Regions from separate parts of the Homo sapiens genome. Here region 2 is linked to region 1. The links are contacts of gene promoters, found by promoter capture Hi-C in blood cells and fetal thymus (Javierre and others, 2016). All regions are on one chromosome and are shown on one strand. The core of a region is centred on a gene start or on the middle of the fragment in contact, and the rest is flanking DNA. Distances in the headings are between cores, read along the strand shown. Region 1 holds the start of CAND1 (cullin associated and neddylation dissociated 1). Region 2 overlaps TBC1D15 (TBC1 domain family member 15).

Region 1 (3,613 bases), core at 721-3,220:
TACTTGAATTGGAAGCAAGCAAAGCCCCAAAAATCAAACGGCATTCCAATCCGTAAAACAACACAAAACCTTTATTTCCCCCAAGAATCTTAATTTTGGCCCTAGAACTACACAAATCTAAAACACACAAAACAAACATGTCACCTCCAAAAAGTTACAATACTAAAATTTTTACCATTAGCGAAATGATTTTTAAGTTTTAAATACATTTAAGAGCTGCCTAGGTAGAAATATTTTTTAAAGTAATACGTGGTTTTGTGGTCATTGATTATTTTAATAAGCCAGTATATCAATTTAATCAGGAACACAATTACTACTTTTTCATGGTTCTCCTTTCACAAATCCGAAAAGTTCTTCCCAGTCCACACGGTTTGGACACATTTTCAAGTGTTAAAACATATTGTTCATACAAAACAAACAAGCTCTTTAGTCACAATTTTAGTTGAAGACTATTTGTTATTTCCTTTAAAATGCACCCAAATTACAACCACTAAGCATTAGAGAACAAAACAGGTATAAGGAAATAAGCGATTTTTTTTTCTTTTTTTTTTTTTTTTTAGATTGAGAACTTATTTGTGAAGAGATGGGAGGCGGGAAAGAATGCAACAATCACCGAAGCGTGCAAGGAAAAATAAAAACAAAGATAACCTGTAAAAATATAACAAATCTTCACTATGCATATTACAACACTTTGGAACCAACAGTACCGATCTCCTGAACAGAACTGCTGTAATAAAGCTTCATATTCACCAGGTCCGTATTAAACATCTCTTCCTTTTGAAGATCCGTCTGCTATGATTAAGATCCAGCAATCCACCCCTTTGGCAGTGATTTTGGATATGAGGACATGAGACTGAAACCCCGAGTTCCTAAGTTGGTTTTACCTGACAAGAGGAACTGACAGTGATGCTGGCGGGAAAACCCTATGAGCGAAGTTTCCTCCATCCTGGCTCCCCTCCCCCTTCTTCCCACCTTCACGAAAATTAATAATCCACAAAAGAACTATGTATCAGCCAAGAGCGCAAAAGTTCATCATTCCACCTGAATGCAGCAAGGCCCACGCGCACCTGCGGGCAGAGAGGAGGCTGCCGGGTCCCCGAGTGGGCAGCAGCTTGGGCCCCAGCGAGCAAGGCGGCCTAGCGCCGCAGGATGGCAAGCGAATAGGCCCGGCGCCCGGTCTCCCGGCCTAGAGCAACTCCCTTCTCCACAATGGTGGGTGGTTTAGCCCCTTCGCGCTACCTGAGACGCAAGAATCGCCTCCTGGTGGGGCAGGGAAGGATGTGGGGGCGCTGAGACAAGCAAACGGGGCCTAGAGACCGCGGCGGGCAACTGCCTAGGAGAAAGAATGGGGGGAGGGGGTTGCAAGAGGGGAGAGGAAAGGGGCTCCGCAGGGATCGGGAGGCCAGCGGACCGGTGGGCTGGAGACTTCGGGGCAGAGAAGCTACCGGCTACGGCCGAAGGGGTGGGGCAAGGCCTGCGTGACGGCCAGGGCCGCGGCTGCGAGAACCCCGAGGTGGGGTGAGGGTCGGATCTCGGCCTCACCTAAAGTCCTTGTCGCTGGATGTCATTTTTTCCAGCAAATTGGAAATGTGGTACGAGGCGCTCGCCATGTTGACGGCCTCGATCCCGCCTGCTGGCGCTGCTGGAGCTGCTGCCCGCTGCCGCTGCCGCCGCCGCCGCCGCCACTGGAGCTCCTCCTCTCGCTCGCGGCGGCTCCCGCTTCCAGGGTCGCAGCGCGACGCCGACGCTGACTAGGGAGGCGCCTCGACGGGCTGCCCCCTCCCTGGCGAGGCGTGGGCCTGTCCCGGGGTAAGCCGAGGCTACAGAGCCAGCCTAACGACGGCGCTGTTCGCGTGAGAACGAGCTCATGGGCGGCGGGGCGTACAGAAGGGCCTCTACGGGGAGCCAGACACTTCCACTCAGGGCCGTCTCGCTCCCACTCGCTCCGCACTCGCTCCCTAGGGCAAAAGGCCAAAGCCCGCCTCCTTCGCTCCGGGGGCGGGGGCGGCAGACGCGGGCGCTACGGAAAGCTAAGGTCAGAGTTCACGGAGGCCTCCCCACGCACGCTGTGGAGAAGAGAGTTAAAAAACAATTCGGTTGGCTGAAGCCTGTGTCAGTTTTCATGTGACCCGCCTTTTGGAGGCATGACAACACAAAAAAAAGGGGCTGTTCTCGCGAGACTCTAAAGCGACGGTTAAGGGACAGGGGACGAGTGGAGCAAGTGGGCCTTAATCTGAAAATAACTTGATTGTTTAATGACATTAAGAGAAAAAGATTACGAGCTTTGAGAAGGAGGAAGCCTGGGAGTAACGACAGTTAAGGAGTTAGCTTGCGGAACCAACATAAGAATTTATAACAGGGAGGTGTCGTTTGGGATCAGACGCGTGGCCTGCATTGCCGTAGCCACCGTGGTGTAATGTTGCCACGTAAAAACCACAAATCCCAGAATTCAGTCGGGTGATACACTGGCTCAGAATGTGATTGGCTGCGGGAACTAGTAGCTTCCTCATTGGCTCCCGTGGAAGGAGTGAATGCTGGGATTTGCAGTCTGATGGGGGAGCCGTGCTGGGTAAAAACCTTAGAATCGTCGCGCACTCCGTTTCTGCCGCGGATTCTTATATTCTCCAATACAGGCTTTTTCTGTTATGCAGTATTTGCAGAGCAGGCTGCTGCAGTTTGGCCAGGCGCATTGCGGATCAGTTGGTGTTCTTGCCAGAGGCCTAGCAGCAGCTTCCTAGCGCTACTACTTGCACCTCCCAAGGCAGCTGAGCCTCCCCACTTCTCTGGCCAGACACACTCCTACCGTGCATCGTAGAACCACCTCTCTGACGCCAGCAGGACCTTAGTAAGAGTAATGGGTATGCGACAGATGGCTGTAGTCAGGCCCTACTGATTTCAAAATAGCTAAAAGACTATCTCTGTAGTTAGCTTTTGTGGCCTTGATGGACCTGCAGCTGTGTATTGCTCCCTCAGACGTACAAATTCGTGGAGATGAGTTATGAAAGTATTTAGTATCCAAGTTTTTCATCTGCTTAATATTTGGGATTTTAAACACAAGTTTTGCCAGCTAGGGGTCAACATCCCTGAAAGTGTTAGGGATGGAGCTAGCTGACAGGCCTTTCTAAAAGAACAGAGAGCCTGGTGAAGAGATGAAAAATCAATCTCACTTGATACTCCTGTTAAAAACAACAACAAACCTTTAAATAGCTCTCTACTAACACATAACTCAAATCCGATCAAATCTACCTGACCTTTACCATTGTTTTCTGTATTCATCAACTATTACTGAGTACTTCAAAGTCAGGCAATAGGAGTTAATAAAACAGATGAAACTTGGTTTAGCCTCATAATATGTGTTTAAATTTCACACATACCTCTGATCTGCTCTCATGTATCCTTCTACTTGAATGTATGTAATATAAAGGCCGGGTGCGGTGGCTCATGCCTGTAACCCCACCACTTTGGGAGGCCGAGGCGGGCAGATCAGGGCATCAGGAGTTCGAGACCAGCCTGGCCAATATGGTGAAACCCCATCTCTACTAAAAATACAAAAATTAGCTGGGCATGGTGGCGCGCCTGTAGTCACAGCTACTCGGGAGGCTGACGTAGAAAA
Region 2 (3,613 bases), core at 372-2,871, 4.6 Mb before region 1:
GCAAAAACTTATCTAAAATACATCTCTAATGGGGATATAAATGACGTTTTCATTTCATCTTCCAGTTCATCTGGCAGAGAACAATGAATACGAAAACTGCTCAAAGGATACATAGTGTCAAAATCAAGTTGGGTGGTTTGGCAGTATGGGGGCAGGGTGAACCATAATTTCTGTATGGTCCAATCTTTTAAAATCAAGAAATAATGTATTTGATTAAATGAATTTAAATTGAAATTTGAACAAGATACCCCCCCCCAAAAAAAACCACATACAATAACAAGACAAAAGGTGCAACTGATTAAGAAAAACAAAACTCTTAAAAACCCAGTAATACTAAGTAGAAGATATGGAAGAACCATTTTTTAAAAAAGACACAATAGCTATGTTTTAATACTACTACTAATAAAGAAATGCAAGAAAGTGATTATGATAAAAGTTAGGATAACTGTTTCTTAGGAGACAAGGGGTGGTACGTGGAAGGTCATCTGGAGTTATTGGCAAACGTCTTTTTTTTTTTTTTTTTTTTTTTTTTGAGATGGAGTCTCGCTCTGTCACCCAGGCTGGAGTGCAGTGGTGCGATCTTGGCTCACTGCAAGCTCTGCCTCCCGGGTTCACACCATTCTCCTGCCTCAGCCTCCCAAGTAGCTGGGACTACAGGCACACACCACCACGCCTGGCTAATTTTTTTGTATTTTTAGTAGAGACAGGGTTTCACCGTGTTAGCCAGGATGGTCTCAATCTCCTGGCAAAGGTCTATTTTTTAACCTAAGCTGTGATTACAAGTTTGCCTTATGATTCATTCAGCTATATGGTAAGTATGATTTTCACTATATGAATTTTTACAACAAAAATGCTAAAAATTACTGGTGATAAACACAAAATGATACGGTTTGACTGTATCCCCACCCAAATCTCATCTCAAATTGTAAACCCCACGTTGAGGGAGGAACCCAGTGGGAGGTGACTGGATCATAAGGACAGTTTCCCCCATGCTGTTCTCAGGATAGTGAGGGAGTTCTCACAAGGTCTTATGGTTTAAAAGTGGCAGTTTCCCCTGAGCACTCTCTCTCTCCTGCCGCCATGTAAGACATGCTTTGCTTCTGCTTCCCCTTCGCCTTCTGCCATGAAGTTTCCTGAGGCCTCCCCAGCCATGCGAAACCGTGAGTCAATTAAACCTCTTTCCTTTATAAAATACCTAGTCTCAGGTATTTCTTTATAGCAGTGTGATAACGGACTAATACACAAAATGTAAAGTCTTAAATAGGATCTAAATCAAATCTCAAGGGTACTGAAGGAATTTTGTCTGATGGAAAACATGATACAAATTCAACAATGAAAAAATATACCTTGAGAAAAAGAAAGGGAAGAACAGATCAAAGATTTGAGGAAGTAGCACCACCTGTCACCAAGCGAATCTGCAAAAGAAGGTGGGGGGGAGAGGAATGCAATTGTTTTGGAAGATTATACAGACTATCAATGAGAAGGAAGAAAAAAGACACTTTAATACAAATTACAAACTGGTATAAAACCACTCTATGTATATGATGATGACCTTCAGCTATCCAAACATCTACTGGCACATTCTCTAAATACATACCATCTGTTAAAATTCTTGAATATCTTGCTGATAATGTCGCCTGTCAGAAGGTACAGAACAGAAAAGAGAATTAATGCAGGCCAACAAGAAGGAAATGGTAAAATCTTGGGAGAAAAAACCATCTTAAGAGTTCATAACAACAAAGAGAACAAATTTGGAACACAAACATTCAGCCTACGATTGAAGGGGAAAAAAGATGTACAGAAGAGATAGGTATTAATTCCACCAAAAACAGAAAGGAAAAAGAAACCCTATATAAAAACTTCCACTTCTGGCCAAGATGGAATGACAGGCTGGATTTAACCTCCCACCAGAAAAATAATAATAATAATAAACTAAACTAAAAATACTGACCAATCTGTGAAACAATAGTTTTCATGATACTCCCCAGCAAACAATGAAGGATAGTGACTATTGAGAGAAAGGAACCAAATGAAGTGAGCAATACAATTGTCTAGCTTTATGTTGTGTGTTCCCAGCTATGGGAAAGGGAGAGAAAACTCAGAAGGTGTCCAGTGAGGAGAGAGATGTGGGAAATAGGGGATGCCAATACAGCTAGAGTTCACAGGAGAAAGTACCAGAGAAAAGAGAAGAACACACAGGGAACTCAAGAAATCTGCAGTCTTCCTCGAGTATTCAGCAGAGTATGGAACAGTGCATGTTTGTCAGTAAACTCTTCAAGGCGAGAGGGAAACTATTAGAAGAAACTATCTGCAGGCTCACATAACTGTTTGCACCAGTCAGAGTGGGAAATCTCATAATTCACAAAGCACTCCCTTGCCTCATCAGTGAGGCAAAATTAGTTCTATACTAAATGCAGTGCTGATACCATTTAGCAAAGTTTAAAAGCAAGACCCAAAAGTACCCAACTGACTCCAAGCAACTTAAGTGCCTTCTAACACAAAACTCAATAGTATTTTACAGAACACAAAAATATCTAGCACCCAAAAAGAGAATTCAACATATCTGACATCCAGTAAAAAATTTACCACTAAGGCATGCTAAGAGCCAGGAAAATATGACCTATAACAAAAAAAGTAATCAATTACAATTGACCACAAAACAACACAAATAGTAGTGAAGGATATTAAAGTATTATTTTAAGTCTATCCCATATGTTCAAGACACTAAAGTCACAACTCGGCCAGGTGCAGTGGCTCACGCCTGTAATCCCAGCACTCTGGGAGGGTGGTATGGTTTGGATCTGTGTCCCTGCCCAAATTTGATGTTAAATTGTAATCCCCAATGTTGGAGGCAGGGCCTGGTGGGAGGTAATGGAATTATGGGGGCAGTTTCTCAGTTTAGCACCATCTCCCTTGGTGCTGTCATGTCAATAGTGAGTTCTCCTGAGATCTGATTTTGTTTAAAAGTATGTGGCACCTCCCCTCTCTCTATTCCTCCTGCTCTATGTGAAGTGTTGGCTCGCTCTTTGCCTTCCGCCATGATTGTAAGTTTCCTGAGTCCTCCCTAGAACCTGAGCAGATGCCAGCACCACACTTCCTTTACAACTTGAAGAACTGTGAGCCAATTAAACCTCTTTTCTCTATAAATTGCCCAGTCTCAGATATTTCTTTATAGCAGTGAGTATTGACTAATACAGAAAATTGGTATCAGAAATGGGCATTGCTATAAAAACACCTTAAAATGTGGGTGCAGCTTTGGAAGTGGGTAACAGACAGAGGTCAGAAGAGTGTGGAGGGCTCAGAAGATAGGAAGATGAGGGAAAGTTTGGAATTTCCTAGAGACTGGTTGAACGGTTGTGACCAAAATACTGGCAGTGATACGGAGAGTGAAGGCCAGGCTGAGGAGGTCTCAGATGGAAATGAGGAACTACTGGGAAGTGGAGTAAAAGTCACTTTTGCTATGTCTTAGCAAACAGCCTGGCTGCACTGTGCCCCTGCTCTAGGGATCTGTGGAACTTGGAACTTGAGATGGATGATTTAGGGTATCCAGTGGAAGAAATTTCTAAGCAGCAAAGTCTTCAAGATGTGGCCTGGCTGTTTCTAACAACCTATG

The links. Contacts are between HindIII fragments. The CHiCAGO score rates a contact against its expected background, and 5 or more counts as called.
Region 2: a contact is called between a fragment that was not itself captured here and the fragment with the promoter of CAND1 in region 1, in 1 of 17 cell types (neutrophils). The highest score is 5.3, in neutrophils.

What each region holds. Positions count from the first base shown.
Region 1 is chr12:67,267,715-67,271,327 of GRCh38, reverse strand. It overlaps CAND1 (cullin associated and neddylation dissociated 1), which reads right to left and starts at 1,970. Exons shown (of 15, transcript NM_018448.5): 1 at 1,543-1,970. The coding sequence starts at 1,610. RefSeq lists enhancers at 1,204-1,855, 2,135-2,394, 2,535-2,834. The HindIII fragment of the contact is 8,089 bases long and covers 741-3,613 here.
Region 2 is chr12:71,852,587-71,856,199 of GRCh38, reverse strand. The region is part of intron 1 of TBC1D15 (TBC1 domain family member 15); the gene reads right to left. Among named protein-coding and RNA genes, the nearest start is that of TBC1D15, 15 kb to the right of the region's middle. The HindIII fragment of the contact is 4,970 bases long and covers 1-3,613 here.